Linked DNA regions of Homo sapiens: all the other regions are linked to region 6. The links are contacts of gene promoters, found by promoter capture Hi-C in blood cells and fetal thymus (Javierre and others, 2016). All regions are on one chromosome and are shown on one strand. Each heading gives the region's core, a stretch centred on a gene start or on the middle of the fragment in contact. The rest is flanking DNA. Distances are from core to core; before and after follow the strand shown. Region 1 overlaps AMACR (alpha-methylacyl-CoA racemase). Region 2 overlaps ZFR (zinc finger RNA binding protein). Region 3 holds the start of TTC33 (tetratricopeptide repeat domain 33). Region 4 holds the start of TARS1-DT (TARS1 divergent transcript). Region 5 overlaps SUB1 (SUB1 regulator of transcription). Region 6 holds the start of NUP155 (nucleoporin 155).

The links. Contacts are between HindIII fragments. The CHiCAGO score rates a contact against its expected background, and 5 or more counts as called.
Region 1: a contact is called between a fragment that was not itself captured here and the fragment with the promoter of NUP155 in region 6, in 1 of 17 cell types (activated CD4 T cells). The highest score is 5.2, in activated CD4 T cells.
Region 2: a contact is called between a fragment that was not itself captured here and the fragment with the promoter of NUP155 in region 6, in 2 of 17 cell types (total B cells and naive CD8 T cells). The highest score is 8.1, in total B cells.
Region 3: a contact is called between a fragment that was not itself captured here and the fragment with the promoter of NUP155 in region 6, in 2 of 17 cell types (non-activated CD4 T cells and total CD4 T cells). The highest score is 6.6, in non-activated CD4 T cells.
Region 4: the fragment with the promoter of TARS1-DT here is called in contact with the fragment with the promoter of NUP155 in region 6 in 1 of 17 cell types (monocytes); the score reaches 6.4 in monocytes.
Region 5: a contact is called between a fragment that was not itself captured here and the fragment with the promoter of NUP155 in region 6, in 1 of 17 cell types (non-activated CD4 T cells). The highest score is 8.1, in non-activated CD4 T cells.

Annotation. Positions count from the first base shown.
Region 1 is chr5:33,996,310-34,000,662 of GRCh38, forward strand. It overlaps AMACR (alpha-methylacyl-CoA racemase), which reads right to left. Exons shown (of 5, transcript NM_014324.6): 4 at 2,332-2,518. C1QTNF3-AMACR (C1QTNF3-AMACR readthrough (NMD candidate)) reads right to left here. Exons shown (of 9, transcript NR_037951.1): 8 at 2,332-2,518. Among named protein-coding and RNA genes, the nearest start is that of AMACR, 9.6 kb to the right of the region's middle. The HindIII fragment of the contact is 2,416 bases long and covers 1,357-3,772 here.
Region 2 is chr5:32,434,240-32,438,847 of GRCh38, forward strand. All of the region lies in intron 2 of ZFR (zinc finger RNA binding protein), which reads right to left. Among named protein-coding and RNA genes, the nearest start is that of ZFR, 8.2 kb to the right of the region's middle. The HindIII fragment of the contact is 3,794 bases long and covers 1,125-4,608 here.
Region 3 is chr5:40,752,964-40,757,716 of GRCh38, forward strand. TTC33 (tetratricopeptide repeat domain 33) reads right to left here and starts at 2,998. Exons shown (of 5, transcript NM_012382.3): 1 at 2,861-2,998. RefSeq lists an enhancer at 2,872-3,021. The HindIII fragment of the contact is 348 bases long and covers 1,443-1,790 here.
Region 4 is chr5:33,438,330-33,442,836 of GRCh38, forward strand. TARS1-DT (TARS1 divergent transcript) reads right to left here and starts at 2,305. Exons shown (of 3, transcript XR_001742630.2): 1 at 1,876-2,305. TARS1 (threonyl-tRNA synthetase 1) reads left to right here and starts at 2,636. Exons shown (of 19, transcript NM_152295.5): 1 at 2,636-2,814. The coding sequence starts at 2,758. RefSeq lists enhancers at 1,982-2,569, 2,224-2,533, 2,634-2,823, 3,084-3,143, 3,158-3,744. The HindIII fragment of the contact is 5,282 bases long and covers 1,074-4,507 here.
Region 5 is chr5:32,586,981-32,591,414 of GRCh38, forward strand. SUB1 (SUB1 regulator of transcription) reads left to right here. Exons shown (of 5, transcript NM_006713.4): 2 at 1,532-1,604. The coding sequence starts at 1,533. Among named protein-coding and RNA genes, the nearest start is that of SUB1, 3.6 kb to the left of the region's middle. The HindIII fragment of the contact is 545 bases long and covers 2,892-3,436 here.
Region 6 is chr5:37,368,027-37,372,725 of GRCh38, forward strand. NUP155 (nucleoporin 155) reads right to left here and starts at 3,080. Exons shown (of 35, transcript NM_153485.3): 1 at 2,795-3,080. The coding sequence starts at 2,951. RefSeq lists enhancers at 2,753-2,862, 2,983-3,072. The HindIII fragment of the contact is 10,669 bases long and covers 1-4,090 here.

The DNA of each region.
Region 1 (4,353 bases), core at 1,315-3,814, 3.4 Mb before region 6:
TGAGAATTTTTTTTGCAACTCCTGAGAAGGCAACGCACACGTACACACGCAGGGCAGTATGAATGCCTGGGAGAGATCTGTAAAGGCCCTCGTCTCTCACCTCTGGCTGACCTTGAGGCTCTTCACAAGCAAGAAGTTAAGGCATATAGTGCCTCAGAAAAAGATGGGAGATTTATTGGTTCAAGGCATTTAAGGGCCAGGCGCAGTGGCTCATGCCTGAAATCCCAGTACTTTGGGAAGCTGAGGCAGGAGGATAGCTTGAAGTCAGGAGTTCAAGATCAGCCTCAGCAAAATAGCAAGATTCTATTTCGACCAAAAATAAAAAATTTTGCCTATAGTCCCAGCTACTTGGGAGACTGAAGCAGGAGAATCACTGGTACCCCAGAGTTCAAGGCTGCAGAGTTCAAGGCTATGATCACACCACTGCACTCCAGCCTTGGCAACAGAGTGAGACCCTGTCCCCTAGATTAAAACAAACAAGCAAACAAAAAAAAAAGGTATTTAAGGACATTTCTGTCCAATCATTAGCTGAAGCTAACTCAGCTGACTTCGGTGGCTGCACATGCCAAAGAATACAGATTTAATTTAAGAAAATCATTAAACAAACAGCAACAATAACAAGCCCAGGACTGAGGGATCCTGAGGAGTCCTGGGAGTTGTCACATTAAATTATTTAAAATGTCCAGTATTTTTTTTTAATTTTACACGTTTATTTTCATTAAAACTTATTTAAGTCACTTTGGACCCAGCATGTCCTTAGGTTTTACCCATTCATCAAACTGCTCTGCTGTGAGAGAGCCAAGTTCAACGGCAGTTTCCTTTAAGGTTGATCCATTTTGGGGTGTTGTCTTAGCAATTCTGCTGTTTTGTCATACCCTATATGAGGGTTGAGAGCTGTCACCAGCATTAGCGACTAATTCATTAGCTTCTTGATCCTTTCTTTATTGGTCCGGATTCCCACTATTTAGTTTTCTGTGAAGGAAACTGAAGCATCCCCCAGCAGCCTGAGTGTAACATAAATTTTTAATCATCATTGGCTTGAAAACATCCAACTCAAAATGGCCATTGCCGCCTCCAACGGTTACTGCCACACAAAACCCCATGACTTGGGCTGCAACGATGGCCATTGCTTCACACTGACGAGGGTTTGCCTTGCCTGGCACGATACTGCTTCCTGTTGTATTTTCAGCAAGATCAGTTCTCCCAGACCTGGCCAAGGACCAGAACTCAGAAAATGAATATCATTTGCTATCTTCATCAGACTGCAGGTGGCAGTGTTCATGGCTCCACAGAGCTCCACCAGAGCATCATGAGCAGCCAGAGCTTCCAATTTATTTGGAGCAGTGACAAAAGGCAAGCTTTTTAATTTCTGGACAGAGAGGTACCCTTTATGATCTAGATAAACCATTGTGTTCTTCTATAGTTTTTCCAACTATATTTGAATAGGTGAAGTTAATATGTTTAATCATAAAATGCTCTCAGATGCTTGCAAAAACAATTACTCCATCAGATAAGAACACATCAAAAATTTGGAAAATTTAAAAAAAGTCATTCCAGCTATATGCAAATAACTTTTAGTATATGCATCTGAAAAGCTACCAAACGTAACAATGAAACTCTAAACTTGTAGTAGAAAGGTAAATGCACTGTGATCAGCTTTCACATCACTTCAGAGTATATTCTAAAACTTCTTAGATTCTACATTATTTATAGAGTGAACTCTAAATTCAAACATTTCTCAGGAACAAAACGACTCCCATCCAATTATTTAATTAGGGAAGAAGAGATCCCAAATTTTCTTGCTAATTTATGACAACTTGCCAAGCAGGCAAGAATCTGCAAGACAGGTCATCTGCAAAGGCATAGTGATATAGTAACATATTCTAACAGAATCTCATTTGGCAAAATCTTTCCATGCTCTGGTGACTTCTGACATTGAAGTGCCATAAGGGACATCTACCAAGAAATAGGAGCTGGTAGAATATTGAATGGAAAGCAACCCATGTGAGATCATTTCTAGGGAAGAGTAAGATCTGGGCACACAGGGTCAAGATTATCCAACACAAGGAGTGAACTGTAATAAAAGCACCGAACATCCTACAAAAGGGATTATTATTTTTAAAACCCTCAGCTATTTTATAGACTAGTAAGACTGCTGGTCAATTTAAAAGCCATGGAAAATGCCCCACATTATATTGATGGCTATAATTAGGTTAATTAGAAAGTGGCTATATAATAAAAGACATCCTAGATGCCAAAAGTCTTTAAAATAGAACCAAAGAACATCCACAGCAAAAGGGGAACTGGGGGAGACGCGTGAAGTTCACTTACCTTTGATCAGCAGCTCGTAGAACTGGGGTTCTATTGCTCCAACAGCCATGAATTCCCCATCTGCTGTCCTGTAAGTCGTATAGAAAGGTGCTCCACCATCCAACATGTTCTGTCCTCGAGGTGCTTCCCACAGACTCAATTTCTGAGTTTTCCACAGAAAAGAACTTAAATATGCTGTTCCTTCCACCTTTGAGAAAACAGAATACAAGACAAATCCAGATAACTCAAGTGTCAAAGCATGAATAATTCCTCCCATTCAAGTTAAAAAAAATTTGCGTAAAAATTCTTATCTTAGAGTATACGAAGATTCTACCTAATTACACAACTTCTCTGGTATTTCCAGAAAGTGAGTTAGAGCAGTTTGTGTTAAAATAACAATTGGCTGCACTATTCAGTTCCAAAAATACTATAAGACTTAGAAGAAATGACCTTTGCTTTCCATTTCAAATAAGATTGGCAAAATGCTAGTGATTTAGCTAGGTGAGGGTACATGGAAGGTCACTATACTATTCTCTCTACTTTTTATAATGTTAAAAACTGCCAAGATAAAAAGTTAAAAATTAAAAGAGCTTTTAAAAATCCATCTTCTGATCTCCATACCTATAAACACACACAGATGTATAAACCATACCACATTTTAAAGGTAAATCACATAAGAGTAAAATTTGGCTTATTCTGGCTTGATTCCAATCCCAAGAAAACTGTATTTGAGTATTTAATGTATTTCATAATCACTAGAAAGTTATAAAATAAACTAACAATATGGATGGCAGGTATGTGCATTTTCTGAGTCCAGGCAAACTGGTTTGGGAATGCCACCTTCCCACTGAGTCCTAAAGTCATCTCATCACGCCACCTTCCCACTGAGTCCTGAAGTAATTACACAATAAAGTACAATTATCACAAGGCTCAAACTCAAAGGCTGAAGGCACTGGACTATTTGAAGAAGATGATGTTCTGACCTTTATGCCTTTTATGAGCCTAATGTCTCCAGCACCCCAGGAGGAAGGCCTTCAAAGCATCCTCGTCTCAAAAGCTACCAATAGAGCAGGCCTCATTCCAACTGCTAGCAATTTCTCAGTTACTGACTGTGGAACAACCACAAAATGTATCTTTGGATATATCCAATTTTCCCTCTTAACTTGAAATTTCACGCACATCTGAATTTATGGCTGTGACATTTATTGTCACCAAATAGCTGAGTTCATGCAAGTGGCCTACGGCAGTGCCTTTTTTTGAGGCTGGATTACAGAGATATTAGAGTTCCACATTTATACACATACACACACACACATATATACACATATGCATGTATATGCGCACTATTTTAAATATATTTTATGTTTATGTTATTTAAGCACATATTTAAATGTATCCTATACCAAATTCTGACTCATCAGAGCCTCAACTCATTAACATTTGTTGCTAGACTTTAAAATAAAGCTTTTCCTTCCAATTTTGCATAAATATTACCTTGTATTTGAAACACTATTGAGGAAAACCTTTGTTCTGCATGGTTCTCCTCTCCTCTTAATTTGTGCTGACTCATACAAAACCAACAAGTTAGCACCTTCAATAAGCAAGTGCCTGCTTTCCGCTCAAGCTTTACTTCTCTCAGAGCCTAACGCCGAATCAATAGGGCGGTAATAGATGAACTGGAAGCAAGCTTGTCATACAGTGCAAGAGAGAGTTTTAGCAGAGAGTTCTGAATACTGTTTATCTGGCTTTCATGTTCAGGCCAAAGAATGTGAGAAGTTTTTACACACTGTAGTGAGTCGACCTAGAAACAAAGTATTTTTGTTCTGCTTCATCATAAATGAAATGCAATCTGAAATTTTAAGCAAGTTTTTAAAAATATAGGGTCTTTTTTTTTTTGAAATGGAGTGTCACTCTGTTGCCCAGGTTGGAGTGCAGTGGCACAATCTCAGCTCACCGTAACCTCCACCTCCAAGGTTCAAGCGATTCTCCTGCCTCAGATTCCCGAGTAGCGGGATTACAGGTGCCTACCACACCCAGCTAATT
Region 2 (4,608 bases), core at 1,772-4,271, 4.9 Mb before region 6:
ATTCTTCAGTTTGAAAAATTCATGTAGGACATTATCAGCTGAAGACTTGTAGCCTGAGATTTTCTGCTTATACAATTTCAACATTATCATTGGTCTAGAGCGGTGCTTTTTGCATTCATCTTATGATCTATCTGATAATTGGGAAACATTTTCCTGTGTCAACTTTCTTCTCCTTTGCTGGTATGGGCAGAGAATGAACAATTTTGCATTCTCAACTGTGTTGAAGGAAAACTAAAAGCCAACTATGAAGTTAGTGTCTCTACTTTCTTTTCTAGCTTTTTGAAAGAAGATATGATACTTGGGCAATGCAATATCATCTAGTTATTTCACTACTGTACCACCCTTGTAGGTGATTCCAACATTCTTCCATTTTCCAATTATATTAGTCTTTAACATAGTTGGGAATACGTGATAGAGGAAATAATTCACAGAATGATAAAACAGCAAAATGTTTAAGATCCCATGATGTAAATCTTGCTAGATAGGATGAATTTTATTCCATTTTGAAAAATAAGGGAAATGTTTTCTTTGCTCTTTGGAAGGCCTCTAAGAAATAAAAGTCATGGAATGTCAATCCTTGTAACTAGAACTACTCAAAAAAGAAACTCACTATTGATTGGGTACAATAAACCCTGAAGGATACCATAAATTAATTAAAATGAAGTACTCTGTAACTTTTTCTTTCTTTCTTTTTTAAAGACAGGGTTTCACTCTGTCACCCAGGCTGGAGTGCAGTGGCTCAATCAAGGCTCACTGCAGCCTTGACCTCCCCAGGCTCCGGTGATCCTCCCACCTCAGCCTCTCGAGGAGCAGGGACCACAGGTGTATACCATGATGGGGGGTTAATTTTTGTAGAGGCAAGTGGATTGCTTCAGGTCAGGCTGGTGACCTCAATTCCTGGGCTCAAGGAATCCACCCACATCAGCCTCCCAAAATGCTGGGATTACAGGCATGAACCACAACACCCGACCTCTGTAACTTTTTATACTCACGAAAAATAAATCCTTCATCATTTCTCAAATGTATTAACACTTCTTCAAGGAAAGGTATGAATATTCACACTGAGTGAGATGGGAAAAAAGCTAACCTTCTGTCAATTCAGTTTTTACTGTCAAGCTTTTACAAGCTTACTACGAATATTTTCGGAAGTGTGTGAATTTCGTAAATGTGGGTGAAACATTACAGACTTCTAAATATAAAACTAGGATAACCAGATATTCTGATAGTAACTTAAACAGAAGAGTGTTATGATTAAATTTACATTTCATAGAGACCATTATGCTTATAGTATAAAACGGTTTGGGAATGGGCAGGATTGGGGAAGTAAGAGAAGCTATAAAGCCACTTTCATAAATCACAGCACTCTTTGCTCTCATCTACATGGTTATTGTTTAAACAGTTTTATTGTTTTTCCCATCAAAAAGGGTCATATTTCTTCAAGCCTATTTTCAAAGACATGCCTTGCCCATTTAATGCTGACTACCATACTAGTAGTGTATTTTATACTATAGCTTTTCCCAGAAATATGAATTCAAAAAATTTATTTTCATTTGATTGATTTCAACCACAGTGCTTCCCAATACTTTAAGCCCATGTGACCTCTGGAGCTCTTAAGTATCTATGTGAACACTAGACTACAAACTTATTTTAAGCAAAATTTTATGCTATTTTTTTCTGTAGCTCCAAGTGATCAGATTCTAGTTTCCTTATAAAGGCTACTCATTAAAATTACACCAGTAACTTGATAACTGTACTAAATCCCTAATCCAGCAACTCTAAAGCTGACGACCTTGCTATCATCTTTTGGTTTTCATGACCCTAAATTCTCCTGGCTCTCTGTTCACACAGTATTTCTTTCTTTCCCTGGTCCTACCTTAAAGTTGGTAACCACAGTTGTATTCTTTTTTTTTTTTTTTTTTTTTTTTTTGAGATGGAGTCTCGCTCTGTCGCCCAGGCTGGAGTGCAGTGGCGCGATCTCGGCTCACTGCAAGCTCCGCCTCCTGGGTTCACACCATTCTCCTGCCTCGGCCTCCCGAGTAGCTGGGACTACAGGCGCCCACCACCACGCCCGGCTGATTTTTTTTTTTATTTTTAGTAGACACGTGGTTTCACCGTGTTAGCCAGGATGGTCTCGATCTCCTGACCTTGTGATCTGCCCGCCTCAGCCTCCCAAAGTGCTGGTAATACAGGCGTGAGCCACCGTGCCTGGCCCCATAGTTGTATTCTTTATTTTTCTATAAATAATTTAAAACATGTCTACTGAATGCTTGATATATGCCAGGCACTGTACTTTCTCTAGTTTCATCCATATTCACCAGCCACCTACTGAATAATGGCTAACATTGATAGAGATATAATATATGCCAGATACTGTTCTGAACACTTCACAAATAATGTTTTCTTTTCTTCATTTTATTAATAATACAGAGTCTCACTTTGCTGTTCACGCTAGTCTCAAAATCCTGGGATTAAAATCCTCCAGCCTAGGCCTACCAAAGTGCTAGGGTTACAGGTGTGAGTCACTGCCAGGTCCACCTTACAAATAATAGTGAATCCTCGAAACAACACAATGGAGAATGTAAAAACCTCCTGGGATACTGATAATGTTCTGTTTTTGTTTTTAATTTAAGTGCAAGTTACACAGGTACACTCGGTTTATGACATTTCATTTTCTCTTACATGTGCAGTTTTCCTATGAGGCAAAGAAAATATTATCTTCAATTTATAGATAAAAAAACTAACAACAGACTGTTTGCCCAAGGTCACATGGCAGGTAATAGGAGGAGCCAGATTCAGCTTAGGTAGTCTGACTTCAGAGCCAACCCAGTCTCTATTATATCATGCAATCCAGATATTTGTCTTGGCTCAATACTTTTCCTTTGTCTAAAATGACCTTCCCTTGATTTTCAGAATGAAAGAACACGAAGTCTACCTCAAACTCCATAGTCAAAATCCTCCAATTTCCCATTTTAGTATTTCATTAAAACTTAATTATAATGGCATAGTTATTTGTAGACTCATCTGTCTCCACCCTCATGCCCCAGAAGTGTAAACTCCCTGAAAGCAGGGACTATGCATATTGTAGATGCTCATAAAATATTAAATAAGTGAATTATTCCCTACAAATGCACTTTAATATAAAGTGTATACAAGACTAATATTCAAATAAAACAAAAAAAAACCCAAAGTTTATTTCATTCATTTTATCTCTGTATGAATAAAAGCTGTACTGTACATGGCTTTCATGAAATACTAAGAAATGATATACTCAGAACAATCACTCTAATCCTGTATTCTGACAGAGTGGTGTCATGGACAATTAATAGTCAAGCAACCTTTAATAAGTAGACTAAAGATCCATCCAAATAATACTAACATACTTCATCAATTACAACATTTATAAGCCTGAATGGTCTTCTGATTAACCTGATGATCTATGTCTCTGAGTAAAAATGTAGCTGATTTTTTTTTTAACAAATACATCTATTTAAACAGACATATATTAGATATATACTCTAATCCAACTGCTTATATAAGCATGTCTATCTCTGGGATCTCTATTTTAACTCAATAATCTGTCTATCCCTGTACCAATACCACATTTTTCTATTAATAATATTTTGGTATCTGATATTACAAGTCCTTCCTTATCATTTCTGCAAGACTTTCATGATATTTTTAGCTGAACACTCTCCTCACTATATACATTAAAATCCCTTTATCAAGTTATACCAAAAATCCTATGAGATTTTTATTGGAGTAATGCTAAATATATATAGGAGATAATAATTTGATGGCATTGGTTTTTCACTCATGAACACAGTCCATCTTTGTCATCTTTTATGACTTTTTTATCCTATTGTATTTTCTCTTCAAAGTGTTTTGAATACTTCATTTGTTTTATTCCTGCTTACTTAATAGATTTGGTGGCTATACATAAACAGGACTTATTTGAAATTTAATAATCTAATTCAATATTGATGAAACAAGAATGCTACTGATTTTATCTGAAAATTTTTTTTTTTTTTTTTTTTTTTTTTTGAGACGGAGTTTCACTCTTGTCGCCCAGGCTGGAGTGCAATGGCGCGATCTTGGCTCACCGCAACCTCCACCTCCTGGATTCAAGCTATTCTCCTGCCTCAGCCTCCCGAGTAGCTGGGATTACAGGCATGCACCACCACGCCTGGCTAATTTTGTAGTTTTAGTAGAGACGGGGTTTCTCCATGTTGGTCAGGCTGGTCTCGAATTCCCAACCTCAAGTGATCTGCCCACCTCGGCCTCCCAAAGTGCAGGGATTACAGGCATGAGCCACCGCTCCCGGCCTTTGCCTGATCATAGATCCAGAAAACTTGCTGTACTCTTATTACTTCTCATATTCTTGCCTGACAAGCATAACAATCATGTTACCTGTAAATAGAAACTTTCCTTCTTTCTCTATTAGTAATGAGGACTCCAAATGTTTTAAAACATTTTACTGTGAGATTATGAAACTCTCTATATAAATATATGATAGATATTAACCAAGGAATCCTTCTAAAACCCTTATAATATTATTACTTAAATCTCTACAGGAAACAGCATTGATAGGAATGCCTATTGATAATCAGG
Region 3 (4,753 bases), core at 367-2,866, 3.4 Mb after region 6:
ATGGAAAGACCTACCGTAATGGCAGAATTTGGAGGGGTAAGAAAATTGTGAGTCGTATGTCTGAGTTCTTAATGAATATGAGAGAGTGCCAATAAATCACAGCAATCAAGAAATATACAGGCTGGGCGCGGTGGCTCACACCTGTAATCCCAGCACTTTGGGAGGCAGAGGCAGGCGGATCACCTGAGGTCAGGAGTTCAAGACAAGCCTGGCCAACATGGTGAAACCCCGTCTCTACAAAAATACAAAAAGTACCTGGGCATGGTGGCACATGCCTGTAATCCCAGCTACTTGGGAGGCTAAGGCAGGAGAATCGCTTGAACTTAGGAGGTAGAAGTTGCAGTGAGCCGAGATTGCACCATTGCACTCCAGCCTGAGCGACACGAGCAAAACTCCATCTCAAAAAAAAAAAGAAAGAAAGAAAGAAAGAAAGAAATATACAGGCTGATAATATAAGTGAACCACAAACTTTCCACAGGAACTGAGATTTTTTTTAAAACCTGGAGGACTAATGGATTATAAACTGTGCTGGGGAATAAGGACAATGCAAACTCTCTCCCCAGGCCGATCATATTATAGGAGAATGAGTTTCCCATGTTTGAAGATGACTATGAGTATTGTAGGGGAAGATGGCTGAAAACAGAAGTGTGGATACTATGGAACAGAAGTTAAAAGGCACACAGTGAGGACAACCTGAGAAAATACAGATCATTAGGAAAGACTCACAAGATATCAGTGTAAGACAAGATAAAAAGAAGTCTTGTATTTATGATTATCCCTAATGGTAACAAGAATGATGACCACGTTTTCCGGTTTCAAGATTCCAAATGAAACTTTCTTTATTCATAAGGTGAGGCACCAGGCACTGTGGGAACCCTACTCATACTAAAGGACACCTAGTGTGTTTACTGGAGGTAAACTACAATAAAAATCATTGATCAAAAGAAAAAAAAGTAAAAAAAAAAACCGTTGATCAGATCTGTAGATTACATGAGGGGCTGTGATAGGGTGGGAAGGAAAGGAAAAAGTGAGAAACAGACCCACACATCTTTTAAAATTAATAGGTCATTCAGATTCCAATTACCCTCCCCATCTTCCAACCCAAACCACTGTTATAAATGCTGGGGACAAGTATAAGTTATGGCCCAAGGTGGTGGCTCTCAACCATATGTGAAAAAACCACGCCACTATTGCCTCAGGTGTTTGAGCCATTCTCCTCCACAGATCCCTTGAGACCTAGAGATCAGGGGCTGCAGAGGTCAGGACAGACTGAGGTTATGAGGGTGTGGGAGGCCTGATGCCACTAGCAATCGACAAGTTTAACCTGAAAGAGGGAGACAAAAATACAGTCCTCTCAGACAAAAAAAGGAGTTAATATTGAGTGAAACATACAGGCAAGTTCAGGGATGGAGGGAAAGGAAAATGAGGAATTTCATGCCCCAAGCTTCACATTTCTCCAGCAAACAGCGGCTAGTCATCTGCTCAAAGTAAAAGGAAAATAACAGATCTGAGTTCTTGAGAAAAAGGGAAAAGACTAAAATAGTCACTGTGGAGATAAGGAAAAGCAACAAAGGAAAAATAGAGATACCAAACAGTAGTATCAAGGGCCCACTACTGTGTAAAAGCATGAATCTGTTATCAAGGCCATTAGCAAAGTTTTATATTTTCTTCAAAAGTGTCTGGAAACCACAGAGTACAGTCAATTTCATACACGATATGTGCTACAAGAGAGTAAACAAAGGATGCCATGACATCAGAGAAGAGACACTTGAGGCTTTCTGGAGGACTTAAGCTTTGAAGAAAACTTAGCCAGGCTTAAAAAGGTATGTGAATCCTAGAGCATGCAAAGCACTTTCTGCATTAGAAAATTTAACATTCCCAGTTGTTTCAGATATCTTAAGCCGAACGAGTTTATTGTTCCTCTATGACTATCTGAACATGAAATTAAAACTTCTTATGAAGGAGGCTTTCCTGAGTCTAGTTAGAAGCACGAGGCTTCAACATCCTAGACTTAACATTTTTTTACCAGAGTAAGAAACCATGAGAGTAAACCACAATCCACACCGGTTTCATGTTAAACTCATGAAACCAGACAAATTCAACCTTTTATATAGGATTATATTTCAGGAATGGCATAACGATTCTAAACAACGACGCTGTATTCTAAATTCCTGTACTGTTACAAAGATCCCTATAGTAGGCGCTCAACAACTGGCGACGGCTTCACATTTACCCAGCCGCCAGAGAGGGCTTGTCTTGAGTGTGTCTGAGGATGCAGCACCCAAAGGGAAAAACCACTACATGAACAAGATCAGGAAATCACAACAGCATCCTTCTGGGTAAAAGGAGGTATTCAGAGGTGAGGAATCCAAGAAACGATTTACCCAAAAACGCCACCGCAAGAGAAAAACCAGTATTAGTGACTTTCCCTTCATCGGTCAACAATAATAAAAACGCTCAGAAAGGCTGCCCCGGACGTCACCTGCGCGTTCACGGACCGCCCCGGGCCGCAGACACCTCTCCAGCGGGGAGCGGCCGGCTCGTCCCGCCCGTCCCACCGCTCAGGGAAGGTTGCGGCCGCGCAGCTCCGCGAAGGTGCCACGGCGGGCCCGACCCTCAGACTCGCTTGTCCCTGGAGACCAACCCTAGCGACCAGGCTCTGCCGGATCCCGTCGGGTTTCAACTCCTATTCCGAAGGTCCTTTCTCCCCTAATCACAACACCCACTCGCCTCTTTTTCCTCCTCTTCCTCAGCTTCCACCGCCGACCGGGCAGCCCCAGTTACCCGATAACGGCTCCCAAGGCCCCGTGTTTACATTCTTTCCCACTGGAAGCAGAAATTATCACGCCCAAATTCCTACCTGCCTTCCCTGGATTCCTGGTTTCCTAAGAAACGGGTTTGGCCCACCCCTGGGCGTTCGAACAGTCCACAGAAGCGGGCAAAGGAAAGACGACTCAGTCTTTCCCCTCCGCCAATCTCTTCTCCGGGACCACAAATCCCAGAAGTCACCGCGGCCGCCCCCACTGCATGACCTTCTGGGATTTGTAGTAGTCAGGGCCACGCGGCTGGGCGCGCCCTCTAGCAGCAGCCCTGAGTGACCGCAGCGCACGAGCGCGGGAAAATGAGGCTGCGCGGGCTGAAGAGCGCACCGAGAGGAGCCGCCCCCGCGGTACCGCGCAGCCTCGCGTCCCGTCAGTGGGGAACAAGGTGAGGGGAAAACTTATTTTACGGGATTCAAAGGATTAGGATATGCTCCTTCCCCGAAGGGGTTTATAGCCTAGCTGATGAGGTCGGCCAGACGCAGAGAACAGAGAGGCAAAATTCGGTTATAAAGGGCTCGAGGCGGCCGGGCGGGGAGGCTAGTCAGGGAGGCTCGAGGCTGAACTGCAGGCTTCACGTTAAAGTTACAAGTGAGTTGGACCCAGAAGGCAGAATTACAGCCAGAACGTAGCTGTGCATCATGTCTTGAAAATAAACGAGCACATGTAATAAAGGTAATCAAGATTGTTAATTTCTCCAACTCTCCTGCCCAAAAGACTCATTTTTGGAAGTCATACTTTCTCAGCCTCAGCACCATTAACATTTCAAACTGGATAATGCTTTGTTGGGGGACGGGGTGTTCTGTGCATTGTAGGGTGCTTAGCAGCATCTCTGGTCTCTGTCCACGGGATGTCACCACCAGTCGATTGTGACAGCCAATGGTTTCCCCAGTGAAATTTCCCCTGGAAGAAAAACTATCCCTCCCACCCTGCCCCGTTGAGAACCACTGATGTCGACCAACGATTGTCCTGAGGGTCAATGACACCCTTTCAAAGCCAAAATTATTTTCATACTAATATGAAGACGTGATTTGCCCTTTGCACAATGCTGACATTTGCACTGATGGTGGAAAAGCAATGGTAGGTCAAGGTGCTGGCCCCTCCACAGGAATTACAGTAATGACACCAAACCGTACTGGAGCTCTTCACCACCACACGCTCACAGTAAGAAAAATGGGCCGGGCGCGGTGGTTCACGCCTGTAATCTTAGCACTTTGGGAGGTCAGGAGTTCGAGACCAGCCTGGCCAACATGGCGAAACCCCATCTCTACCAAAAATACAAAAATTAGCCAGGCCTGGCGGCACGCACCTGAATCCCAACTACTCGGGAGGCTGGGGTGGGAGGATCCCTTGAGCCTGGGAGGTCGAGGCTGCAGTGAGCCGAGGTCATGCCACTGCATTCCAGCCTGGATGACAGAGCAAGGCACGGTCTCAAAAAAAAAAAAAAAAATGGAAAAATGAACGCTGTCACCAGAGAATATCCCTGATGAAGTTGTAAAAGTTACTTTATTATAACCACTCCGACACTTAATATTCTTTGTAAAAACTTGGAAGTCCTCACAAAGTACTTCTGCTGCATATTGAAGTATGACGTATCAAAGAAGAGCTACTGTGAGATGGCATTATAAACTGAAGTAAATACTTTTTTTTCCTGGAACACAAATTTTACTAAGATGAGTGACAAACCGGTTATTCGGACTTGGGTATTTGACAAACCTTTCTTGAAAATGAACAAAGGGAATCTGTAACTTCAAGAAAAACAAGGAAAGGGAAAGGGGAAGGGGAAAGGAAAGGAAAAAAGAGAAATAGGGAGGGAGGGAGGAAAGAAAAAAAAATTGAGTTTGTTGCCAATGATAAAATTCAAGATTTTAGGCAAAAAAAAAATATGATTTTGGAAAAATGGTATTCACCATAATGATCTTGGCAGCTTCCCA
Region 4 (4,507 bases), core at 1,055-3,554, 3.9 Mb before region 6:
GGGCAACAGAGCAAGACTCTGTCTCAAAAATAAATAAATGGATAGATAGATAGAATAAAAAATAAGAAAAAATTAACTGGGTGTGGTGGTGTGTGCCTGCAGTCCTACCTACTTGGGAAGCTGAGGCAGAAGGACTGCTTGAGTACAGCAGTTTGAGTCTGTAGTGAGCTATGATTGTGCCACTGCACTCCAGCCTGGGTAATGGAGCAAGACCTCATCTCAAAGAAAAAAGAAAAGAAAAGGACTATTATTAAAATCAAGGTGTCAGCTAAAGAGCAGTTATATATATATACACACACACACACACACACACACATATGTATATGTGTATACATATATATGTAATCTGCAAATTAGGTAGCTAATATTGCATAACTCTGTTCTCCTAGCACCTTTTCAAGTTACCCTTAGCCTTTGTCAGGACCTCGCTAGACTAGATTCTTTACCTAGAAGGATAGCCCAAACCTTCCTTCCTTCCTTGTCTTTGTTGGGTTCCCAGAGTTTTCCAACAGCGAAACATTAGACAAGGAAGTACTAAAAAAGGTCTCAGTGAATCTCCTGGGTTCTTGACAAAATTCTCCTTTATGTAGAAGAAACCCGCTTGTCCCCTTGTAATCAGGATCAATCACTCTGGACAGAAAAACAACCCCCAATTCTGCCTGTGAGTGTAGCAGTACGTGAAGCCCCACATAGGGTGTACTCTTAGGCCAACTGATCAGAACCATTACTGTGCATATATATATATATAATATATGTATATACATATACGTATGTGTATATGTGTGTGTGTGTGTATATATATATATATATACACATATATAGTAAACTTGCTTAGCTCTAAATACACACATAGTGAAAGAACAAGTTGAACCGGTAAGTTCTACCAAGAACCACATGAAACTACCAGCAGACACTATTGTAAGCGCCAAGGGGACCTTTCTCCTTGGCCCTCTGAGGTTTGGCTGAAAATCACTAACATGAGGAACATTAATAGAAAAAACATACAAATTTACTTAACGTGTATACACAGGAAGAATCACAGCGTGATTACCCACCCCTCAGAGGGCTTCAGAAGCTTGTGGATACAATCCCAGCGACACAGGTTATGATAGGGAGAAGAGGAATTCTGTTGAGGGATTACAAAGGAGAATGAATGTATCAGGAACACATTAATTTGTACAACATCTTGTGAAAGGGTCTGCTCAGGTGTGATTACTACATTCTTGGTCTTACAGGGAGGCAACAAAAACAATTATGTTCCTTGTGATGTGTCTAAACTTTATCCTTTGCTTTGGCAGAGATGGCGTGGGGATTTAGGGGAGTGGGACCTTGAGGCTTCTTCAGTTCAGATGTCAAAACGCCATTATTTGGGGGTATGTTTCTGCGCCTCCAACACTGTTTAACAGGGAGGCTTGTTTCATCCAGTAAGGGAGTCAAGAAATGGTTCCCCGAAGAAAACGATTCTTGAAATCTGACAATAAATGAGGTGTCAAACAGGCAAAAAGTGTGTCGGAATGAGCACGGATGAGGGTAGGGTGGAAAAATCTTGGTACTTAGTCTGTGGGAAGACCTGAGGAAAAAAAGCCACTACAGTTTATAGTTCAGTGTATGGTGGGCGAACGAGATGAAGCCGAAAACTTGGACAATCAGGGATTGTCCAAGAGCAAGGGAAAGCCACCAAAGATTTTTCAGCAGATTGCCGTGATCATATTTGTATTTGAAGACTACAACGATGCTGTATGAAAAATGGATGCACAAAGCCGAATTGGGAAGCTATTGTTCCTGGAAAGTATAACCCTGAAGGCGGAGAGTTGTAGAGAACAGAACTGATGTTTAAAAAGAAAAATCCACAAAACGTGGTGGTGGAGCACGTACCTGAAGTTATGCCTATTGCGCTTCTGATTTCAAATAAGTAATTGTTTTAAATTGCCTACTAACATAAAAAAGCCCAGTCGATTCCAAACACTGGCACCCAGGCGTGAGAATCCATGGTTATTTCCTTGGGTGAGCTTTATTGTATTTTTGCGGGCGCTATGGAAATGCTCCTCCAGGCAGTACAGATCAGCAGCGGCTCGTAGTGAAGAACGTTCAAGGAAGAGTTTGTCCCGGATCAACAGGACATGGGGCTTGGGAAGCCTGGACTGCCATGAGGAAGGTCGATTCACCACTACAGACAGGGAGCCTGAGGCCTGGGTGGTGCCGACAAGTCGGCAGTCACGCCAGGTCAGGAAGCGCCGAAGCCGCGGGAAACCCTGGACTCCATCCCGGGATTTGTCCCCGTGTCGAAGATGGTATCCAGGTCGCCGAAAACTTCCCGGAAGTTTAGACCAAGACCTACTTATTATCTACGGTGTCCGGGAAGGTCCATGATTGTTCCACATAAAGTCAGAAGGGAGGAAAGGCGCACGCGCATTGGGGACTTGACTCTGGAAAGCGTCCAGACCAAGGTCAGCGGAGAGTAGGCATGTAGCTTCTGCAGTTGCTCCTCCTCACCCTCCGCGACCTGATTTCCTAGAAGGGCTCTGTCACCCGAAAAGATTTTCCACTGGCTTAGAGGAGGGAGGGCCCGCCTTCCCCCGTTATCCATTGGCTGCTCGTTCCGCCGCAAGTTGGGGGCGGGGTTAGGGCGCCTTTCGATTGCATCAGCTGGTCCAGCCGAGGCCAAGTCCCGGGCGCTAGCCCACCTCCCACCCGCCTCTTGGCTCCTCTCCTCTAGGCCGTCGCTTTCGGGTTCTCTCATCGCTTCGTCGTTCGCCAATGTTTGAGGAGAAGGCCAGCAGTCCTTCAGGGAAGATGGGAGGCGAGGAGAAGCCGGTGAGCAAACTTGGTGGGACCCAGAGACCAGCCTGGGACTCTAGTGGGTGCAGACGCTACGCTCGCGGCGGGAGCGGGGGGCAGGAAGCAGGAAGCGGCCGGGACCGCGTGGGTCGGAGAAGTGGGGGATGGTGGGACTCCTGGAAAGTCGGAACCCCCTTTGGGAACCATCCATTCATAAATTAGGGTGGGGCCTTGCAGTTCATCTGTGGGTCCATTCTCTTTACAGATGAGGAAACAGACCTTGAGTGAGCGACTTGTTCAGAGCCTCACATCTACAGTAGTTAGACGCGGAGACAGAATCAGAATCTTAGGCTTGAGGCTTCCAAACTTGCGTTTATGGCTTACTGTAAGCGGGAAACACATTGCAGAGCCTTATTTAATCAATCTCCTAAGATCCTGCGGGGGTAAAGAGCTCCATTTTAAGGAAAGGAAAACCGAGTGCCCGAGATCTGACCCAGCTTGTCCAAGTTTGGGTGGTTAAGTATACATTTTGCCCGGCACTGATCTGGGCGGTGCATGTGGGAAGATGAATAGGGCCCAGTTCCCCGACTTTGAGGGCCTCACAGGCTGATGTGTAAGAGACAGGAAAACAGCCCTAGTGCTTTGTGATCAACCTTGTGGTATTACAGAAGAGGAAGTTTAGGAAGGCACTTTAGAATTTAGTTTGGAAGAATGATTTCACCAGGTAAACAGGCAGGACGGGGCTTCCCACGTAAAGGTAGGGAAGGCAGTGAAAAGGGGCACGCAGGTGAATTGTCTTTCGGGTTGTTTGCAAGAGATATGCCAGAAGGGTTAAAGGAACAGTAATCAGAAGGATCTTAGGCAACAAGGATGTTTGAAACTTGTATTCTATACATGAAGGATCTTAAGCAGGAAGATTGTATTTGTAAAAGTCACGCTGGCATTGGGATAGAAGGTTAGGCCACATGCAGAAGGCTGTTGTAATAGTCCAAGTGAGAAGTGGTGACGTCTTCAGCTAAGGGATCCTCTATCCCAAGTCTGTGACAGGACAGTTCACTTAAAAGCCAAATTTTTTTCTTGATTGTCCACTCGAGATTGAATGGAGAAACTGCATACGGGCACATTCTAACTATGTAAATTTAATTCTAGATGATAAATGGTGACTATACGTAGATTTTTTTCACATAAAATGATATTTTTACTGTTTTGTAACTTTTTTTTTTTTTTTTTTTTTTGCTTAATAGAATGTGGTCAACAACTTTCCATGTCCATAAATATTCTCCTGTGCTATTCTTAATTGGACGTGATATGTATGGTTAACACATATGTAATTTTTCCTTCCTGTAATAATTATACAATAGTTAATATTTATTTTGAGTACTAAATACGAGTTTGGCACTGTATTAATGCATTCCATGAATTAACTCATTCAGTCTTCTTTTTTTTGAGACGGAGTCTCGCTCTGTCACTCAGGCTGGAGTGCCGTGGTGCGATCTCGGCTCACTGCAAGCTCCACCTCCCGGGTTCATGCCATTCTCCTGCCTCAGCCACCAGGCCTGGCTAATTTTTTGTATTTTTAGTAGAGACGGGGTTTCACCGTGTTAGCCAGGATGGTCTCGATCTCCTGACCTCGTGATCCGCCCGTCTCGGCCTCCCAAAGTTCTTGGATTACAGGCGTGATCCACCGCGCCCGGCCTCATTCAGTCTTCTTAATAACGCTGTGAAGTGG
Region 5 (4,434 bases), core at 1,914-4,413, 4.8 Mb before region 6:
AGATTATTTATGATTTTTTTTTAAGGAGGAATTTTAAGTCTTTTTTTCTTGTATTAAACAAATACAGTGTGTGATGTGTTTATTAGGCCCTTTAACGCATACAGAAATTAGCTAATTTATGCCTAGTGTTCCATTATTGGAACGCTAAGCATGTGGGAGTTATTTATGTGCTACTGCTCAAGATCATCGCCAAGGTCTGCTTGCATAAATTCAAAAAATTGCAACCTCTGGCATAAATGGGTTAATAGGACCTAATCTCTTCTGAGATGGGGAGAGCAAAAGATATTTTGATAATCAGCGTTTTATGACCTGGTGTTATAAGTGCCTTGAATAGAGGTATCCACGTATCTTGGAATTCCTTGAAATTTGGGGCTTAGGCTTACTGATAGTTTGCTTTCTGCAAACTTGCACTCAGGCACTCAGTAAACACCCACTTGTAAGCAAGGCACTAAGTTATCTATGTCTCTGGGGGGACCTGGGAAGTTACCAGCATGGTAGGAATTTGCGGGAAGGTTTTGCACCTCCCATAAATAGGTTTTGCACCTCCCATAAATAGGTTCTTCAAATTTTAATTATGTTCCAGAGTAGAAAAATCTGTGTAAAATGTAATGAATTGCTGTGAATTGTGTAAGATTTTTTTTTTTTTTTGAGATGGAGTCTTGCTTTGTTGCCCAGGCCGGAGTGCAATGATGTGACCTTGTGTCACTGCAACCTCTGCCTCCGGTGTTGAAGCGATTCTCCTGCCTCAGTCTCCCGAATTGCTGGGACTACAGGTGTGCCACCGTGCCCTGTTAATTTTTGTATTTTTAGTGGAGATAGGGTTTCACCATGTTGGCCAGGCTGGTCTCGAACTCCTGACCTCAGGTGATCCGCCTGCTTTGGCCTCCTAAAGTTTTGGGATTACAGGCGTGAACCATCGTTCCCGGCCTGAATTGCGTATAATTTTGTGTACTCTTGAATTAGTACCTGTCGTTATTTTGGTGATACGGCCAAAAAGTCAAAATATGAATAAAATATTATGTAAAAATTAATTAGATGTCACATTTGCATAGTACAGCTAGTTCCCTGTTGTGTAAATGTTGGGGTCAGTTCCCCATAGTGAATAATTTTACGTTAGTTCCAATCTCGTTGATGAGAAGTCTAAAGCAGTAATAGTAGAATTACATTTCTTCTGGTTTTAATAGTAATTGTTGTCTGCTGCCTTCTTGCAGTTTACCCTACCCATAGTGTGTAATGCCATTAAAACGAAGTATAGAAAGATCCATTGGCCTGGAGAAAGGTTAGAGGTGTAGGAGTGTATGACATTTAGTTCATTGTTCTTACTGGGTTCAGCACATTGCACCCTGCGTGTTATTTGCAACTTAAAAGGGTATAGATTAAAACTTGTGCTCAGTGTAACAACTCAGTACCACAAAAATGGTAGAATGAACCGTGGAACTTGTCCTTGATTTTTTTCTTTGATTGGGGGAGAGCTAAGTTGAAAGTAGTAGAGTACCTTATTAATTATTTTTGTAATGTATTTTTCTTTCAGGATGCCTAAATCAAAGGAACTTGTTTCTTCAAGCTCTTCTGGCAGTGATTCTGACAGTGAGGTTGACAAAAAGGTGACTACTGCTGCACCAAGTCATTTTGGTGATACTCAACAATATTGTCCATATCCCATTCTGAAGGATAGTAAAAGGTGTATTAACATCTTAAAATGAGGATCTAGCTGGGCGCGGTGGCTCATGCCTGTTATCCTACTTCTTTGGGAGGCCGAGGTGGCAGGATTGCTTGAGGCCAAGAGTTCAAGACCAACCAGGCTAACATAGCAAGAACCTGTCTCTTTAAAAAAATAAATAAATAAAAAATAAAAAATAAGAATGTGAATGGGTATTTCTGGAGGTACGGTTGGTCTCTGGACCACTTGACTAGAAGTGCCTAGGATGCTTTTTGCACATTCATACTCATAGGCCCTAAATCAGACTTAACAAGTCTTCTGTTGAGCATCATTAGGAACCCTAAAGTTGCAGAAACACTGCCTTGCATCCTAGGGTCATAGAATTCTAAGTAGGCCAAAGTCACTATTTGCCGTTATTTAGAAATTTACCAGATTTTTTTTTGTAAAATGTTAATTTTTTTTTTTAAAGACAGGGTCTTACTCTCTTGCCGAGGCTGGAGTGTGGTGGCACCATCATGGCTCACTGCAGCCTCGACCTCCTGGTCTCAAGCAGTCCTCCCACCTCTGCCTCCAGAGTAGCTGGGACTACAGGCATCATGCCTGGTTAATTAAAAAAAAAATGTTTTTGTAGGGACCAGGTATTGCTGTGTTGCTAAGGCTGGTCTCAAACTCCTGGCCTCAGGCAATTCTTCTGCCTCAGACTCCCAAAGTGCTGGGATTACAGGTGTGAGCCATCATGAGTGGCCATAAAATGTTAATTTTGACAGTTCTCTTAGTTACTGGTGTTTATTCTGCACATAAGGTTTTCTGAATTTTAGACTTGGTACATTTTTAAGTTTGTACTAAGTTTGTGCTCTGGTCCCTTCCATTTAATTAAATCAGCACGCAGTAAAGCTAACTTGAAACCCATTGACAAGATAGGCTTTTTCTGCATTAGATGACAGCTGCACCGTAATTGGTGAATTTCGCTAAATTGAGCATCTCAGTGGAGCATAACTGAGCGTCTCACTCTGCGGTCAAGTCTTCCGTGCAGAATTGTCTTTTATCGCATAGAACTTTACATATCTGAAGAGATATTTATATCCTAGAAATAGAATAAGTTGGTCGTGTTTTTCCTAATTAGTATATATCCTTTGTAAAATAGTAAGTAATGACTAGCACTGGTAGACCTGTGATTTCCGAAAGTTTATTCAAAAGAAGCAGGCTCCCTATCTTTTTTTTTTCCTCCTGAAGCTTAGCAATTTTAGCTAAAAGAAAAGGGGAGAGCGTATGGGAGATTGGAGAAGTTGCAACCTTAAAGTATAAATATAGAATATAACAACACATGGAAGGGTAAAATAAGGCTTCAAAGACTATACTTGAGTAAATTTCTTAATTTTAAAATTTGCACCCTATATAGTATTTGAGTATGTTGATGTAACACATGTGTATTGAGCTTTTATTTGCCAGACATGCACTATTCCACAGGGAATACTTAGAGCCTGATTTATAGAATAATTGCTTTCTGCATATTGAGCTAACTTTTTGTTTGTCCCAAATAGTAATATTACTCTTGTAAACACTTAACCTTGTATACCACATTTTTCATTTCATGTTTTACATGTATATAATATTTTTCCTAGCTTCATCTAATTTGGTAACATTCAATTAATTTAGTAACATTAAAATATTTATACTATTCCATCAAGAAGGAACATGACTGCCCTCTTCTGTTTGGGTTGGGTATTGTAGTGGTTTTTATGGGTTAGCTCTTTTTGAGAATGCGACTTTCTAATAAGCTTTTAAAATAATGCTGTTTTTAAAACAACGTTGTGATTTTTGAAAGCTAGTCTAACACATAGCTGTCTACAATGATTTTTTTTTTTTTTGTAATGAGGAAGTTCTTGAGTTGCTGGCTGTCAGTGCCCAGTGCAAAATAGCTCTCTAAAGATTTGCCTAATTGTAAATTCCTTTTTTTTTAATTTTTTATTTTGAGATGAAGTTTTGCTTTTGTTGCCCAGGCTGGAGTGTAATGGCGCGATCTCGGCTCACTGCAACCTTCGCGTCCCGGGTTCAAGCGATTCTCCTGCCTCAGCCTTCCGAGTAGCTGGGATTACAGGCGTGTGCCACCACGCCTGGCTAATTTTTTTTTTTTTTTTTTTTTTTGAGATGGAGTATCGCTCTGTTGCCCAGGCTGGAGTGCAATGGCACGATCTCGGCTCACTGCAACCTCAGCCTCCTGGATTCAAGCAGTTCTCTGCCTCAGCCTCCCTAGTAGCTGGGATTATAGGTGCCCACCACCACGCCTGGCTAACTTTTTTTGTATTTTTAGTGGAGATGGGGTTTCACCATGTGGCCAGGCTGGTCTCGAACTCCTGACCTCAAGTGATCCTCCCGCCTCGGACTCCCAAAGTGCTGGGATTACAGGTGTGAGCTACCGCGCCCGGCCCATAAATTCCTTAAGCCAGCATAAATTCCTTTTGGAATAGGCAGGACATAAATAAACATATCCTGGAAATGGAATAAGTTGGTTATATTCTTTTTAATTAGTATATCTGCTTCGTAAAATAAGTAACTGACTAGCCTTAGTAGACTGTGGTTTCCAGGTTTATTCAGAAGTAGCAAGATCCCTCCATTTTTTTTTCTACCAAAGAAATCGTATGTGGGATCCCAAACCACAAAATAACCGTTCCTGTGGTTAATACTACTATAATGCCTGAAGTGTCTTTTGGGATCCTGAGAACAGAGTTTGAAAACATTACTAGACAGAAGGATTGGTTAGATTCATAGTTTTG
Region 6 (4,699 bases), core at 1,830-4,329:
CACCTCAGCCTCCCAAAGTGCTGGGATTATGGGCGTGAGCCACCGCACCCAGCCACTTTTTGTAGAGACAGGGTTTTGCCATGTTGCTCACTCAGGCTGGTCTCAAACTCAAGCTCAAGTGATCCACCCCACTTCCAGGTCCCAAATTGCTAGGATTACAGGCATGAGGCACAGCGCCAGGCCTTTTTTTTTTTTTTTTTTTTTTTTTTTTGAGACAGGGTCTCACTCTGTTGCCCAGGCTGGAGTGCAGCGGCGCAATCACAGCTCCCTGCAGTCTCAACCTCCCCGTCTCAAGTTATCCTCCCACCTCAGCCTCCCAAGTAGCTGGGGGTCCAAGTGTGTGTCACCATGCCAAGCTAATTTTTGTATTATTGTATTTCTTTTCTTTAAGAGGCTGGGTTTTGCCATATTGCCAAGACTGGTCTCAAACTTCTGGGCTCAAGTAATCTGCCCACTTTGGCCTCCCAAAGTGCTGAGACTATTGGGCTGAATTCATATTAAAGCAAATCCAGGCTGGGCACAGTGGGTGACACCTGTAATCCCAACACTTTGGGAGGCCGAGGCGGGCGGATCACATGAGGTCAGGAGATCAAGACCAACCTGGCCAACACGGTGAAACCCTGTCTCTACTAAAAATAGAAAAATGAGCCAGTGGCGAACACCTATGATCCCAGCTACTCAGGAGGCTGAGGCAGGAGCATCGCTTGAACCTGGGAGGTGGAGGCCGTAGTGAGCCAAGATTATGCCAACTGCACTCCAGGCTGGGTGACAGTAAGACTCTGTCTCAAAAAATAAATAAATAAAGCAAATCCAGACATCCCATTTAATCCTAAAACATAACTTTAATAGGCCGAAGGTGGCAGATCACCATGTTAAATGGCAGTGGGAACACAGAGGGAGGAATCGATAACTTTAGTGAGGATGGGAATGCTACGAAAGACTTCAGGCCAGGAGTGTGACTTACATCTGTAATCTCAGCACTTTGGAAGGCTGAGGTAGGAGGACTGCTTGATGCCAGGAATTTGAGACCAGCCTTGTAACAGAGTGAGACTACGTCTCTACATAAAAATTAAAAATTAGCTGGGTGTGGTGGCAGGCGCCTGTAGTCCCAGCTACTGGGGAGGGCAAGGCGGGAGGACCACTTGAGCTCATGAGTTAGAGGCTGCAATGAGCTGTGATCATGCCACTGCACTCCAGCCTGGTAACAGAACTAGACCTTGACTCAAAAAAAAAGAACAAGAAAAAGAAAGACAACAAAGAGAAACTAAGGACTTTCACAGGGAGTCTGGAAAAAGTTTGTCAGGCAAAAAAAGAACATTGCAGAAACAATAAAAGTAAGATAAAATCCTGAGGAAATCCTGAAGATGGGGCTTCTTACGGAAAATATGCTAAATTCTCTGTAATCAGAGCAACGGATGAAAAATTGGATGGAAAAGAAGGGGAAGAGACTGGGTGAAAGAGGAAGGTGTGTGTAAAGGCATGAGATATGTAAGAGAAGGACCAGAATGCATGCACTGTTTTTATATCTTGTTTTCACACCTAAGGAGGCCAAAATGAGTAATGTTGTTCAAGATGATAATTGCTAATAGGCCAATCAGGTATTATAAGACACGCTCATTGGTAAGTAGCTGTAGGGAGCAAATACTATCTTTGTTTCTATCATTTCTTTGATTACAAAGCTATCAATGATTTTTATAAATAATCAGAAGTGTTCTCGGTTTACACTGCACAAATTATCCTATTTAGATTACTTTGGTTCTTGCTCACCAACAATCTTTTCTTTCTTACACTTCGCTGGTTTTCTCCAAATTCCATCTCACAAAGGGGTCACTTTTTCTAGCAACTGATGTAATTCCATAAGCCGTGGGGAGCTGGTTATAACTTAAAACTGTTAAACAAATTACTTTCCAGTCACCTATATTGTCAACACATATTCTGCCTTACTCTCCCTGTACATAAGCACTGTGATTTCCCTGTTCTCTTTCTTTATTCCACTGGTAGTTCTTTTAAGATCCTCCAGCATTTCATAACACACATCTCTACACATAATAAAGCGTTTCTTGGCCGGGTGCAGTGGCTTGCGCCTGTAATCCCAGCACTTTGGGAGGCCGAGGCGGGCGGATCACTTGAGGTCAGAGTTCGTGACCAGCCAGGCCAATATGGTGAAACCCCGTCTCTACTTAAAAAACACAAAAATTAGCCGGGCTTGGTGGCAGGCGCCTGTAATCTCAGCTACTTGGGAGTCTGAGGCAGAAGAATCGCTTGAACCCAGGAGGCGGAGGTTGCAATGAGCCGAGATCGCGCCATTGCACTTCAGCCTGGGCGAAGAGGGAACCGCTCCGTCTCAATAAATAAACAAATAAATATAAAGCAAAGCGTATCTTTAAGATAACATGCTAAATTTCCAAATTAACTTCGTTTGCTCTTACGATCTACTCAAACACTAACAGGAGAAATGAACAAATTTGGGACTTGGATCTGGAGATGCTTCTCATATGGCCTTAGCCATAAGCACTTGAGAGCGGCGAGAAGCTCATTAAGGTTGAGGTCTTTGCCTCTTTCTGCTTCAACTGGGAGCTTGCTCTTCACTCTTGCCCTCTCAAGTATCTACAATGAAGAAAGTGAGGAAAGGAAAAAACCTGAAAAGAAGCTGCTTGCTGTTCTCCAAAAATGCAGCCAACAGTGCCATAAATCTCAGCATATCCTCGCCGGGACCAACGCTGGGGATAAGTAGCAAATTAGGAAGTCAGGCGAGAGTCCTTTAGGTTGAGAAAGCAGGGTCACTATCACTCACTTGGGGCAGACACCATAAGCAGCTCGGAAAGGTCCGGGTACATGCGGTCCTCTTGCAACTGACGGTCGATGAGCCGTCCAGCATTTTCCAGAGCTTCCTGCAGGGCTGCGGCAGATGTAGAGGCCGGCATCGCCGCGCCCAACAAAGAAGACGGCATCTCGGAAATCGTAGACACCAGGGTCCAGAAAAAGTCAAAAACCAAGGAGAAACAAGAAAAGATCCAAGAAGTTAGCTTAGATCCGCCGCCTAGGGCGCGCGCGCCAAACGAGCGCCTTGGCGCCTCGACATGACGCACTTCCGCTTCATCCGGTGGGGAACTGGAAGACGCCGTTCTGGCCTGGGAAGAGGAAGCTGTTGGGAGGGGGCTAGAGGTTGTGGGTGGAGCTAGGAGGCTGCTGATGCTTTCGAGGGGGTTGAGGGTTTTGGGGTGTGGCAGGGTAAAATTAGGGTAGGTTATTTAGGGAAGGGAGGGAGGGAAAGGAAGGGAAGGATAAAGGGGAGGGAACAGGGAAGGAGAGGGGCGGGATGGGGTTGGATAGGGTGAGGAGGAAGGAGGGAGGAGGGATACGGTAGGTGGGAGCTAGGTCGTGTGTCTGGCCTAGGAGGTTGGTCAGGTTCCGTTGGTTTAAGCGCGTGCTCGACCTGAGTCTTGGAACTTCCCGCGTCGGTATCCGCTAACTGCAGCTATATGAGTTCGCGCATGAGCGCGCAGTTTGGTTCTCCAAGTAACTGCTTTTGTGAGAGTAGTTAAGAATTGGTAGGTCGCTGTCACAGAGAGGGATATAAACCAGTATCTCACTATATTCTTCGCGGGCTTCAGTGTAAATTAGAATTCATCAGGCTTTTCCATTTGCGTGTCGCTGTCTTTTGACTTTGTTGCCCCTTAGTATAAAATACGTGTTTAAGAAGAAGCTGAGTGCAGGTGGACCGCTGCCGTGCTTTTTATCGTGGCAGAGATAGCAGACAGTTCTAATTCATCTTTCCATTCCCAGCGCTAGTATAGGAACTCGTATGAGATAGGAACCCAAGAGTTCATACAATCCTAAGAAACTGAATACTTGCCTTGTGCCTGGTGCTGGGACTATCAAACTAACACAGTGTTTCCTGTCCTTAAGGTGCTTCAAGCAGAGACAAAGGGCTTCATTATAATTTTTCTATTTGGATAGGTATAAACTATAGCAGGATAGGAGAAAGCAGAGAGGTAAAAGAGGCTTCATTTACTACAGAAGGCAACCTGAGTGGGTAAATCAAAGCACTTTTTAGAAAGCTGCTCTTATTTAGAATCTCACCTAAGAAAGCTTCCAGTTATGTTCTTCAGAATTTCACAAATCAATAACTGAATTACTCTAAATTGGTCTTTTGCTATTTGAATTACATTTTTACTCCCTCAAAGACTTGACTACATTTCTGAAAATTGAAAGTTCTTTGATGTTACCAATCTACACTTAAAATTTGACATAGCCAATATACCAAGAAAAACTGGATTTTTTATCATTGGTATATAGATAGGCAGTTGGGTCTCTAGCTGTGAGTTTACTTTATTTGGTAGACCATAGATTGAAAAGTGGTGGTCTGGCACCGAGTTTGTTTTTAATTTGAGACAAAATACACAAAGTTTTCAACTCCATAAATTGGAAGATTCAACAACGTTGCTGTGATATTCCTGCATAGAAGTAAAGCTCCCCAAAGTGTAATCTAACTAACTTAATTCATTGGCATATTGCCTATGCTTTCCCACTACAACTGCTAAACCGAGTAATTTCTACAAAAGACTGCAAAGCCTTAAATACGGACTCTGGCACTTTACAGGAAAAGTTTGCTGACCTCTTCCCTAGAACAGATAATTATGAATTTTTTTGGTCTTAGGACCCCCTTGATACCCTTAAAAATTATTCAGGATTCCAG